Regions from separate parts of the Homo sapiens genome. Here region 2 is linked to region 1. The links are contacts of gene promoters, found by promoter capture Hi-C in blood cells and fetal thymus (Javierre and others, 2016). All regions are on one chromosome and are shown on one strand. The core of a region is centred on a gene start or on the middle of the fragment in contact, and the rest is flanking DNA. Distances in the headings are between cores, read along the strand shown.

Region 1 (6,377 bases), core at 363-2,862:
GGACGCGAGGGCGGGGGCCGCGCAGGTCCCGAGGCCGCCCCCCGCGCCCCGACCCCCGCCCACTCACGCCGGCGGCTGCGGCGGTGGAGGCGGCGGCGCCTCGGGCCCGGGCCCCGGGCTGCCGTGCTCCGGGCTCTGCGTCCTGCCGGCCGGGCGCTCGCTGCGGGGCTGCATTCGGCTGCCGGACCCACCGCCGATTCGCGGAGGACCCGCGGGCTTAACGGACGCGGAGACTGCCGGAGGGCTGCTCGGCGGTGGCGGCCCGCTCTGTGTCGCTCACTCCCGCCGCTCCCGCCCGCAGCCGCTGTTTCTCGGCGCCGCCCGCCCCGCCTCCCGAGAGGCTTCGGGGACTAGACGTTGGACGCGGATTCTTCCAGCGCTGCGCCCCGGGTCCGCCTCCTCCTCCGAGAAGCACCCCCAGACCCCGCCATCCTCCTCCTCCGGGAAGCCCCCCACCAGGCCTCGCCCTCCTCCTCCTCCGAGAAGCCCCCCTAGGCCTCGCCATCTTCCTTCTCCGAGAAGCCCCCCAGGCCCCGCCATCCTCCTCCTCTGGGAAGCCCCCGGCCTAGCCCTCCTCCTCCTCCTCCTCCGGGAAGCCCCCCTAGGTCTCGCCTTCCTTCTTCCCCGGGAAGCCCCCCACAGGCCTCGCCCTCCTGTTTCTCCGAAGAGCCCTCCTAAGCCTCGCCCTCCTCCTCCTCCAAGGAGCCCCCCTAAGCCTCGCCCTCTTCCTCCTCCGAGGAGCCCCCCAGGCCTCGCCCTCCTCCTCCCCCGGAAGCCATCCCCGCTCCCCCGACCCCCTAACTTGCTCTCCTCCGGGGAGCCCCGGGGCCCCGCGGCACCAAGAAGTCGAATGGGACCCCGAGGCCAATCCGCCCGTGTTCGCCTCACGCGCCCCCTCAGCGCCAGGGCTGGGGGAGCCGTGCCTGCGCCCCGCGGCGCCCTTGTCGCGGGGTCTGGCTGTCCAGGCCCGGGGGCCCGGGTGTCAGGCTGGTAGCGGGAAGGAAGGCGCCGGCCTCCCCACCGTCTTCGTCCCGTGCGGCGTCCCCGGGAAGAGCCGCGGTCGGCACCCAGAGGGCCATGGACGGGGAGCGCCCTGCGTGGTGTTCGTGGCGCTGGCCCGGTCTCCGCGGATCGGAGGCGAAGCCAGCCTGGCCCTCGGGTCGCCCGTCTTTTGTCGAGCTGGCGACATCAGTGCGGTTCCCACTGCCCCTCGCGTTTTCCACTGGACTCCCTGCTTTTTATTGTTGATTTGTGGGAGCTCTTTGCATAGGAGCCCCGCCGTTGCAGTCTGGCGTCCTCGCAGGCGCGTGCCTTCGGAGCGCCGGGTGGGCTGCGGGCGCGGCGGGACTCCCGGTCTTCCCCGGGGCGGACACCGGCGTCACCGCGTCCTACGGAGCCGGGCGCCGAGCGGGAGGCGCATCTGGGCCCCACCGGGGCTGCCCGCACCGAGCACGCGAACGCGCCCTCCCGCCCTGAGGCCGCCGGCGTTGCGGTCGGAGAACCATAGAGCCACTCGGCTGGGCGTGGCGCGGCGGGGCGGGGAAAGGGGCGGGGCCTGGGCGGCGGAAGTGCGCAGCCGCGCGGCATTCTGGGGCCGGAAGTGGGGTGCACGCTTCGGGTTGGTGTCATGGCAGCTGCGGGGAGCCGCAAGAGGTAAGCCGCGGGTCCGAGGGCCGATTTGGCCTCCCGGTGGGTGTCTGTATCCAAGGGGGCTTTTCTTGCTCCTCTCAGCGGGGCTGGGGCGAGCTGGGCGTGCGGGCAGCTGTGACTCCTGCGTGACCCGCAGGCGCCTGGCGGAGCTGACGGTGGACGAGTTCCTAGCTTCGGGCTTTGACTCCGAGTCCGAATCCGAGTCCGAAAATTCTCCACAAGCGGAGACACGGGAAGCACGCGAGGCTGCCCGGAGTCCGGATAAGCCGGGCGGGAGCCCCTCGGCCAGGTTAGTGGGGACATGCGTGAGCAGAACCTCTTGCTCGTCCTGTCCCACCCCGGTTGGGTTGCTGACCTCGCCTGGGGTCTCAGGGCCAAGGCCTAAGGATCGCCGACCTCTGCCCCCCAGTCCTTTCAGCTTAACTTACTCTTTCATCCGATGTTTACTGAGCTCCTGTTCCGTGCCAAACTCTGTCCTAGGCAGGGAGCGTATGTTGGTGAGTTGTGCAAAAATCTCTTCCCGATCTAGGAGAACTCTCACGTTCTTGGGTGAAATCACCGCCTGCAGTTCGGTAGAAGAGAGATAAGTGCTGGGGAGGGAAAGGAAGGACAGAGGGGCTGAAGAGAGAGTTGCAGGGGAGCCGAGTTGCTCTGTTAGAAGGAGCGGAGGCTGTGCTCGGTGGCTCACGCCTGTAATGCCAGCACTTTGGGAGGCCGAGGCGGGCAGATTACCTGAGGTCAGGAATTCGAGACCAGCCTGACCAACACGGAAAAATCATGTCTCTACTAAAAATATAAAAATTAGCCGGGCGTGGTGGGCACCTGTAATCCCAACTACTCGGGAGGCTGAGGCAGGAGAATCGCTTGAACTTGGGAGGCGGAGGTTGCAGTGAGCCGAGATGGCACCATTGCATTCCAGCCTGGGTGAGAGAGTGAGACTCCATCTCAAAAAGAAAAAGAAAGAAATCAAAAGATACAAAAATTAGCCTGGCGTGGTGACACACACCTGTCGTCCCAGCTACTCGGGAGGCTGAGGCAGGAGAATCGCTTGAACCCGGGAGGCGGAGGTTGCGGTGAGTGGAGATTGCGCCACTGCACTCCAGCCTGGGCGACAGAGTGAGATTCCGCCTCAGGAGAAAAAAAAAAAAAAAAAAAAGCGGAGGTGGTTGTTTGAGAAGATGACGTCTGAATAAAGACCTCGAACAAGGAGGCCACACAGACAGTAGGGGAAACGTGTCTTAGGATTTCAGGCAGCAGAAAACAGCAAAAGCCTTGCAGTGGGAGCATTTGGGGAGAGTACAGAGGTAAACGTGGCTACGGCAGGAGTGAGGGGGTGAATAGGGGTAGATGAGCCCAGAAGGGTGATGAAGAGCCAGGTGCCGTAGACCGTCATAAGATTGCCTCGTAAAACAGGGAGTTACTTCTGGGTTTGAGCGGTGGAGTGCCTTGTAGGTGACAAGGGTGGAAACAGAGAGACCTTTAGGTTAACTGAGAATTGAACTATGTGGTGGTTTGAGAGGAGGCACGAACGGTTTTGAAGGTGTTGCTGATGAGATCTGATGACAAGTTGCGTGCTGGGTATTAGAGACAGAGATTTGCCTTTAGTCTGAGCCTCTGGAAGGGTGAAGCCACCATCAGGCAAAAGTAGCGCAGGGCACAGGCACAGCAAGTCCAGGGAAGACCGCGGCTGGGGGCCTGTGTAGCGCAGGGCGCAGGCACAGCAAGTCCAGGGAAGACCGCGGCTGGGGGGCCTGTGTAGTGTGTTTGAGGGTATGTTGTAGAGGTTGTTGGGTAGGAGACGTGAGTCTGCCAAAAACGTACCTCCTGGCAATCCTGTCTTGCTAGTTGGTAACCCTTGTGAAGGGAGTAGACTGACCCTGTAGGCCACTCCCCGCCCCCTCTACTTCCACTTCCCACTGGGGTCGCTGACTTCTGCCTCCTCAGCCGGCGTAAAGGCCGTGCCTCTGAGCACAAAGACCAGCTCTCTCGGCTGAAGGACAGAGACCCCGAGTTCTACAAGTTCCTGCAGGAGAATGACCAGAGCCTGCTAAACTTCAGCGACTCGGACAGCTCTGAGGAGGAAGAGGGGCCGTTCCACTCCCTGCCAGATGTGCTGGAGGTGAGGGCGTGGGCCAAACCAGAAGGGGGGCACTTGTCTCTACACTCTCCTTCAGCTCAGCCTTTCTGTGCAGGAAGCCAGTGAGGAGGAGGATGGAGCGGAGGAAGGAGAAGATGGGGACAGAGTCCCCAGAGGGCTGAAGGGGAAGAAGAATTCTGTTCCTGTGACCGTCGCCATGGTTGAGAGATGGAAGCAGGCAGCAAAGGTGAGCAGCAGCCAGGGGCGGGCAGCTGGGTGCCCAGGCAGAAATCTGGCCTTGCCTCACCTGAGGTGAGCAGCAGCGAGGGGCGGGCAGCTGGGTGCCCAGGCAGAGATCTGGCCTTGCCTCACCTGAGGCGCCTGAGGCTGTGCTGGTGGGAGGGGCTGTTCTCCACGCAGGGGACGCTTGGAGCCTTCTTCAGCGCAAGTGACAACACGTTGCTCCTCCTGCTTGCTTGGTTGCCCCAGGACTGTGTGTTCACTTTTGGGTAGATTCCAGGGGCTCTGTTGGCGCCCCACTCCCCAAAGTCAGTCCCGCTGTGGGTGGGACGGACTGTGCCTTTGTTGGTTGGTGGAGCTGGGGTCCTTCTGAGCCTCTCACAGTGTTTTTTTCCAGGGACAAGGATACGGAGAGCTCCAGATACCACCTGGAGGTGGCCATAGTCCAGGATCTGGAACTCCCAGTCCTTTTCCTGGGGCTCCTGAGCCAGACTCCCTCCTCTTCCCAGAGAATTCTAGACTTTGTTTCCATTTTTGTTATCAGTATGGGGCTCTGTGCCTCCCCCCAACCTCTGCCCTATGTCTGAGGGTGAGGGTGAGGGTGCCTTTCTCTGGGGCTGCCGTTTCCACTCTGCCAAGTGCAGTCTCAGCTCCCCTGACGCCCCTGGTACTCTTGCTCCTTCAGCAACGCCTCACTCCAAAGCTGTTCCATGAAGTGGTACAGGCGTTCCGAGCAGCTGTGGCCACCACCCGAGGGGACCAGGAAAGTGCTGAGGCCAACAAATTCCAGGTCACGGACAGTGCTGGTGAGCTTGGGGGGAGCCTGGCATCCAGGCTGTCTGTTGCGTTCTCTGTCCCGTGAGTACATCCAGGCCTTTTCGTTGCAGCATTCAATGCTCTGGTTACCTTCTGCATCAGAGACCTCATTGGCTGTCTCCAGAAGCTGCTGTTTGGAAAGGTGGCAAAGGATAGCAGCAGGTAAGAGGGGAGGGGGTGAAGGGGGGTAGGGTGGAAGGTGGGTCGGGACCACACACAGGAGAAGCCAGAGGCCTTGTGGCTAGGACAGAGACATGGCAACAGAGCCAGCGTCTTCTTGGGGACCCTGAGAAGGCAGCGGGGCACGAGGGACCGTTGGGAGAGGCTGGGCACTTGGGGCCAGTTGGAGCGGCCCCACCTTCTTTCCTTCCTGAAAAGGGAAGTTGTCTGCTCAGAGTCTCAGAAGGTGTGGCGTGTGCAGCTGCCTTTGCTCTCAGATTTTCCCAGGTTAGGGTTCTTGCTCTATTTCCCTTTGTAAGAACTTGTAAGTCCTGTCCATACTCCTTGATCTCTGCACTATGACTGGCCTGTTTCCTGGAGCTGTGTGTGTCTGTAGACAGGGGCCTCATCAATGCTGAGAACCTGAGGGCCTCAACTTCCCCTTTAGAGAAAGATTGGGCAGAGAAGGCCGTGGAAGGTTTTCAGAGAAGAGAGACGCACGGCCAAGCATTTGGTAGAGCATGGAGCACGTTGGGGTTCCGGGGCTGTGCAGCCATGTGACCTTGAGGCAGTGGAGGCCTAGAGTTGGAACTGCCCCAGGACACCTTCAAAGGAAGAAAGGAGACCCACAGGAGAGGTCTCGCCGACAGCGGCTCAGGAGACAGGGGCACTGTTGCTGGTGGTAGTGGTCGGGGCTGGACGGATAGAACAGAGCCATGTCCACATGGAGGCAGTGCTGTCCGAAGGGGACAAGGAAGCTGGCAGATGGGGGTGGAGGGACAGGCAGCGATTGGGAGGCAGCACGCACTGCAGCCTGAGCCACCAGGTCAGGGACCCCTGTCGAGGCAGCAGCTGTACCGGAGGGAGTCAGGCCGTGGGGAGCAGAGCTGCCTCCTGGGTCTGGGTGGGCAGCTGCAGGTGCCCAGCAGCCAGTGTCAGCACAGGTGTGAGGAGGGTCGAGGACGGGGGGCCTTTCTGGGGCCCTGCCCTTTGTCCTTCCCATGCTTCAGCAGATTTTAGTGAGCGCCTACTGCGTGGGCTCTGGTAAATGTTTTGTTTTGTTTTGTTTTGTTTGTTTGGTTTTTGGTTTTTTTTTTTCCTTACGAGATAGGATCTTGCTCTGTCGCCCAGGCTGGAATGCAGTGATCATAGCTCACTGCGACACGTACCTTCTGGATTCAAGTGATTCTCTCACCTTAGCCTCCCAAGTAACTGGGACTCCGCCACCAGGCCTGGATAATATTTTGTATATTTTTGTAGAGACGGGGTCTCACTGTGTTGTTCAGGCTGGTCTCAAACTCCTGGGCTTGGAGTTTGATCCTCCTGCCTTGGCCTCCCAAAGTGCAGTGAGTACTGGCATGAGTCTCCACACCTGCCCTCTGATTTTCTTTTCTTTGTGCAGCAAATGTGGGCCAAAGGAAACCAGTCTGCGGCA
Region 2 (6,599 bases), core at 1,442-3,941, 410 kb before region 1:
GCTTGGCCCTGGGAGGGCAAAGTGCTGAGAACACGTTTCTTTGCCACGAATTACTTGGCGGTCCCTCTCTCTGCGTCTTGCAGATCAAGTTCGAGAAAGACCTGAGGCGCATCTGGCTGAAGGCGGGGCTAAAGGAAGCCCCCGAAGGCTGGCAGACCCCCAAGATCTACCTGCGGGGCAAATGAGTCTGGCGCCGCCCTTCCCGCCCGTTGCTGCTGTGATCCGTAGTAATAAATTCTCAGAGGACTCAGCCTTTCCTGCGGGTCTGGAGCTCCATTTGCCGGGTGTGAGGTCTCTCAGGATTGAGGCTGCTGCCAGTCCCAGGTGTTGCAGAAGACCCGGGCAGCAGGGTGGCAGATTGGCCGTCCCTCTCTCTAGCTGGCTCTTGGCCGCCGTCCAGAGGGTGCTGGGCCTGTAGGAGCCCCAGCCTCGCTGTGAGCAAATGTGTGCTGTGTGCAGTTCAGGCTAGGTGCTGTGGGATCACTGTGAACAGATCCCACAGCCCCTCCCTGAGCACCACATTCCCTGGGGAGGCCGACCCGGATGGCAGAAGTACAGGGGGACAGGACTGGGGTTTAGGGAGCACCCGGAATGCACGGGGTGATTCAGGTGTATTTCATGAGTGGAGGGTCGGGGAGGGCCTCATTGGGAAGGCAGGAAAGGTTCTGGTACCACTGGCAGTGGTGGATGGTGCCCGCCAGGCTCCGTGGACGTGATCCTCCAGTGGCCCTCCAAGCTTTCCGGCTACAGGGCCAGGGTGTTGGCCTTCCCAGGCATGTCTGCCATCTCCTGGGGCCCTGAGTGGACGTGGGGACTAAGCAGGAAGAGTTGTCCCAGAAGGGGTTCGGGGCTGGGGGGTGGCTGAGGAAAGGGTCTCGTTTACAGGGCCGAAGAATCCCTGAGGCTTAGGTTGAGCCAGAGGCCCCTGGTGTCTCCACGTTCCTCTGGGTGAAGAGGAGGAACGCATTATTCCCCCCCCCTTTTTTTTTGAGGAAGAGTCTCATTCCATCACCCAGGCTGGAGTGCAGTGGTGCGATCTCAGCTCACTGCAGCCTCTCCCTCCCAGGTTCCAGTGACTCTCCTGCCTCAGCCTCCTGAATAGCTGGGATTACAGGTGCCCGCCACCAAGCCCGGCTAATTTTTGTATTTTTGTTAGAGACAGGGTTTCACCATGTTGGCCAGGATGGTCTCGATTTCCTGACCTCAAGTGATCTGCCCGCCTCAGCCTCCCAAAGTGCTGGGATTACAGGCGTGAGCCCCTGCGCCTGGCTGGAACATGGTATTCCTAAGAGCAGGGATGTGCAGGGGCCCTTGGACTTGGGTAGCAGGGCATGGGTGGGCACTGGGAAGCTGCTGCCCCCAACAGCTCAGCGACAGGAGAGGGGCCTTTGCGTCCGCCCCAGGCGGTTGAGTGGAGGCTCTGGAGCCGCAGCCTCTCCCCCACCGTGTGTGAAGGCTGAAGGCTGGGCTGCCTCTCACCAGAGACGTGGGGGCCTCTTGTCTTTTGTCACAGAAATGTGTCTGAGACTCAAGCTTGAGTTCCTTGCCCATCAGACCTTGGGGAGGACTTGAGCGCTATTCCCAGCAGTTTCTCTAGAACAGGACGAACTTGTGGGTCACACATTGTCCTGGGAGTTGGGCCCTGGACGTGCCAGCCAGCGAGGTCAGTAGGCCTTGGCTGTGGGTCCCTGAGTGCACGGAGGGGTCTGGAGGCTGTAGCGGGTGGAAGTGCGCTTCCCCAGACCACCACAGGGGGGCAGCAGCCGGGCTCCTGGGTCCAGGGCTGGGGACCAGGACAGGTGGCAGGAAGCGTCTTGTGGGGCCCCAGCTGGGGTCACAGGCATCATTCCTGGGTCTGTTTTCCCAGCTGTGAGTGGGGCAGGGCTCCCAGGGCCGAAACTCTCCCAGGTGAAGTGGAGCCCGCTCAGTGCCAAGCCTGGCCCTGCCCCAGCCTCCCGGTGCTCTTGGCCACCACTGGCACCCTCTGTAGTGCTGCTGCCCCCCCGCGTTTCCTTCCATCCCGGGCTCACCTCCCCCTTCCCTGTATGAGGGAGGAGATGTGGGAAGCTGAGTGGACCTGTCCAGAGTCCTAGCCTGCAGAGCTCAGCTGGGCAGCCCGTGGTGGGGAGCAGCCCTACCCAGCTCAGGCACAGCCCTGGGACCCCCCTTGGCCCCGGCCTCCTCCACCCCTGCGTGGGGGCCGGCTTGGGGTGCTCCTGGGAGGCAGGTCAACCATGGCTTTGAGCCGCATCTGGAGACATCTGTGGTTGTCAGTGGGAGGTGCTACTGGCATGGGTGGGTGGAGGCCAGGGATGCTGCCACACACCCTGCACCATGAGGACATCCCCACGACGAACCCATCAGCTCACGTCAGCAGCGGTGGGTACCCCTGCTCCAGACGTCACCATCCCGGCGAGGCGGTGCCTCAGCTGTCCACTCCAGCTCCCGCAACCCAGGCCCCTCCTGCAGACCCACATCCTGCCCAGCCTGCAGAGCTCACCCTGCCTTGGCTTGGAAGCCTTTGTTGCCCAACCACAACCTTGGGAAGCAATTTTGGGGTTTTATTTTTATCTCTGCGGTTGCTCCCAGGCCACAAGAGGCCGTCCCTCCCCTCTTCTCTGTGGGGCCTCCACCCTGCCCCTGCCTGTGAGACATGCACCCCCCTCTCTCTGTTGCCTCTCCCCTGTTCTGGCCCTGGGCATCACCTGGGTGAGGGGCCAGAGGTGGGGTGGGCTGGGCTGGGGGCCTGTGGAGCTGCCAGCGACCTGCCCCTCACCACAGCGTGTCCTGGTGGTGTTCAGAGCTCCAGTTCCAACCAGGACTTGGCTCTGCTGGGGATGGTCCTGGTCAGTGGGGATGGTGCCCCAACCTCACGCCCAGTGGTGGCATTCATCAGTGGCCTCCATAATGGGGCACGTTGGTGAACTCAGCCCCACGCCTCTTCCTCTGGCTGCTGCGTCCCTGGCAAGCTGGTGTCTTCTGCGCCTTCCGCGGGGGCCGAGCCTGGGGCCTGGGGCCTGACCAGCCGCAGAGCTATGGCTTCAGAGCTTTCATGGACCATGGGCAAGGCCCTCAGCTCCCACCCCCGGTGCCCACCCAGGGCCCTGCCTGCTTCAGATGTGTGTGTGTTGGGGGGCAGGGAGGCAGCACACGTGTGTGCCAAGCCCAGAACCTCCAGGGAGCCGAGCTGAGCACTCACTGAACACGCCGTCTGAGAAGCACGCAGGTTGGCGGTGGCAACAGAGACCCTCGGCGTGGAGTGGAGTCTGGGAGGAAAGCTGGCTTCCCTGGGCTGGACCCCCCGAGCCTCCCGGGAAGGGCACTGGGAGGGGGGAAAGAACATTCCTATTTCAGGCTGGAGGAGTCTGGGTCCTGTTTCTGAATGCCATGTTTCTCTCATTCTTAGGTTACTACTTTTTTTTTTTTTTTTTTGAGATGGAGTCTTTCTCTGTCGCCAGGCTGAAGTGCAGTGGTGCAATCTCGGCTCACTGCAGTCTCCACCTCCCAGGCTCAAGCGATTCTCCTGCCTCAGCCTCCTGAGCAGCTTGGACTACAAGTGTGTGCCACTGTGCCCAGCTAATGTTTGTATTTTTAGTAGAGATGGAGTTTCACCATGTTGGTTAGGCTGGTCTCGAACTCCTGACCTCGTGATCTGCCCGCCTCGGTCTCCCACAGTGCTGGGATTACAGGCGTGAGCCGCTGCGCCCGGCCCGATAAGTTCTTTAGAGGAGTTACTTCATTGCACCACTGATTAGAATTAGCCATTTCATACGCGCCGAGCCTAAGTACAGAGTTTAACTTGCCGGGAAGCCATGAGCCAGCCCTGAGTCTGTGTGATTCCTAAGCTTAATTGTAAAAGTAAATTATTTTTATAAAAGTTATGCTTGTGGGCCAGGCGCGGTGGCTGTCGCCTGTAATCCCAGAACTTTGGGAGGCGGAGGCGGGCGGATCACGAGGTCAGGACATCGAGACCATCCTGGCTAACATGGTGAAACCCCGTCTCTACTAAAAATACAAAAAATTAGCCAGGCATGGTCGCAGGCGCCTGTAGTCCCAGCTACTCGGGAGGCTGAGGCAGGAGAATGGCGTGAACCTGGAGGTGGAGCTTGCAGTGAGCTGAGATCATGCCACTGCACTCCAGCCTGGGCGACAGAGCAAGACTTCGTCTCAAAAAAAAAAAAAGTTATGCTTGTACGTGGCTAGTTTAATTGTTTAAGAAGTCACCAGCAGGCGCAGTGGCTCACGCCTGTCATCCCAGCACTTTGGGAGCTGGGAGCATCGCATGAAGCCAGGACTCCAAGAGCAGCCTGGGCAACATAGTGAAACCCTGTCTTTACAAAATAAAAAATCAGCTGGGCATGGTGGTGTGTACCTGTAGTCCCAGCTACTCCAGAGGCCGAGGTGACAGGATGCATGAACCCAGGAGTTCGAGGCTGCGGTGAGCTGCCGTTGTGCTAGTGCCCTCCAGCCTGGGTGACAGAGCGAGACCCTGTCTCCAAAAAGAAAAAAGATTCCTTTAAGAAAAACAGTTGGCTGGGTGCGGTGGCTCACGCCTGTAATCCCAGCACTTTGGGAGGCCGAGGTGGGTGGATCACCTGAGGTCAGGAGATCGAGACCATCCTGGACAACATGGTGAAACCCCATCTCTACTAAAAATACAAAAAACTAGCCAGGTGTGATGGGCGGCTGTAGTCCCAGCTACTCGGGAGGCTGAGGCATGAGAATGGCGTGAACCCGGGAGGTGGTGCTTGCAGTGAGCCGAGATCGCACCACTGCAGTCCAGCCTGAGGGATAGAGTGAGACTCCATCTCAAAAATAAAGGAAAACAGTATCTCTTCCCCCATCCCCACACCACCTTTCCCAGAGGCAATTTTAGTCCTTTTAAATGATTCTTGCGGTAGTACCATGTTTTAAAGTTGGTGACTTTCAGACCTTTTTTTTTTTTTTTTTGAGACAGTATCTCACTCTGTCCCGAGACTGGAGTGCGGTGGCGCGATTTCAGCTCACTGCAACCTCCACCTCCCAGGTTCAAGCAATTCTCCTGCCTCAGCCTCCCTGCTAGCTGGGACTACAGGCATGCACCACCACGCCCGGCTAATTTTTGTGTTTTTATTAGAGACAGGGTTTCACCATGTTGGCCAGGCTGGTCTCAAATGCCTGACCTCAGGTGATCTGCCCGCCTCGGCCTCCCAAAGTGCTGGGATTACAGGCGTGAGCCACCACGCCCAGCCAGACCTATTTTTATTTTTTAAGAGGCAGGGTCTCCCTCTGTCGCCCAGGCTGCAGTGCAGTGGTGCCATTATAGCTCACTGCAGCCTGTAACTCCTGGGCTCAAGCCAGCCTCCCAAGTAGCTGGGGCTACAGGCATACACCACCAGGCCCAGCTAATGTTTTTTTCCAGCAGAGATGGAGTCTCACTAAGTTGCCCAGCCTGGTCTCAAACTCCTGGCCTCAAATGATCCTCCTGCCTTGGCCTCCCAAAGTGTTGGGATTATAGGTGTGAGATACCACACCCAGCCTACTTTCAGACTTTTTTGATCAAGATACAAAATAAGAAATATCTTTTTACACCGCTATCTGATGAACACACCCACCATTGAAAGTTGTACAGAATAGTATCTCTCATAAGTACAATAAACTGAGATATTGCCTATTCTAGTCTTGCTGCACCTTCCTGCCTGTAATCCCGCACTTCAGGAGGCTGAAACAGGTGCATTACTTGAGCCTGGTAGGTCAAAGCCAGCCTAGGCAATGGAGCAAGACCCCATCTCTACAAAAAAAAAAAAAAAAAAAAAAAAAAAAAAAAAGCCAGGTGTGGTTGTGCCCACCTATGGTCCCAGCTACTCAGAAGGCTGAGGTAGGAGGATCACTTGAGCCTGGGAGGTTGACCTGCAGTGAGCCAAGATCGCACCACTGCACTCCAGCCTGGGCAACAGAGTGAGACTGTCTCAAAAATAAAAATGAAAAAGACCGGGCGTGGTGGCTCACGCCGGTAATCCTAGTACTTTGGGGCACAGAGGTGGGCGGATCATGAGGTCAGGAGATCGAGACCATCCTGCCTAACACGGTGAAACCCCATCTCTACCAAAAATACAAAAAATTAGCCAGGCGTGGTCGCAGGCGCCTGTAGTCCCAGCTACTCGGGAGGCTGAGGCAGGAGAATGGTGTGAACCCAGGAGGCGGAGCTTGCAGTGAGCCGAGATGGTGCCACTGCACTCCAGCCTGGGGGACAGAGTGAGACCCCGTCTCAAAAAATAAATAAAAAATAAGTTGCTCCTGATCCACTGAACTGAATTTACACTAATTCACACTCACCAGTTCACATTCACCAATTCATACGTGCCAATCCACACCCATCCACACTCATTCATACACTCACTCAACAATTCACACCTATCGACATTCACCAATTCACACTCATCCACACTACACACACCAGTTCAACTCACCAATTCACTCACCAATCCACACTCATTCACACTCGCCAATCCACACTCATTCATACACCAAGTCACACTCATCCACGCTCTAACAGTCACCAATTCACACTCATCCACTCATTCACACTACACACAATTCAACTCACCAATTCACTCAAT

What was found. The method cuts DNA at HindIII sites, captures the fragments that hold promoters and counts their contacts. A CHiCAGO score of 5 or more calls a contact.
Region 2: a fragment that was not itself captured here is called in contact with the fragment with the promoter of NOC2L in region 1 in 1 of 17 cell types (naive CD8 T cells); the score reaches 5.3 in naive CD8 T cells.

Annotation. Positions count from the first base shown.
Region 1 is chr1:954,491-960,867 of GRCh38, reverse strand. It overlaps NOC2L (NOC2 like nucleolar associated transcriptional repressor), which reads left to right and starts at 1,612. Exons shown (of 19, transcript NM_015658.4): 1 at 1,612-1,653; 2 at 1,787-1,939; 3 at 3,595-3,769; 4 at 3,843-3,974; 5 at 4,653-4,773; 6 at 4,855-4,945. The coding sequence starts at 1,628. KLHL17 (kelch like family member 17) reads right to left here and starts at 284. Exons shown (of 12, transcript NM_198317.3): 1 at 68-284. The coding sequence starts at 174. RefSeq lists silencers at 1-60, 81-390, 1,349-1,608 and enhancers at 1,719-1,828, 1,487-2,344. The HindIII fragment of the contact is 14,217 bases long and covers 1-6,377 here.
Region 2 is chr1:1,367,387-1,373,985 of GRCh38, reverse strand. AURKAIP1 (aurora kinase A interacting protein 1) reads left to right here. Exons shown (of 4, transcript NM_017900.3): 4 at 84-250. The coding sequence ends at 185. Among named protein-coding and RNA genes, the nearest start is that of AURKAIP1, 4.5 kb to the left of the region's middle. RefSeq lists silencers at 1,623-1,917, 2,176-2,225 and an enhancer at 1,281-2,048. The HindIII fragment of the contact is 2,312 bases long and covers 1,536-3,847 here.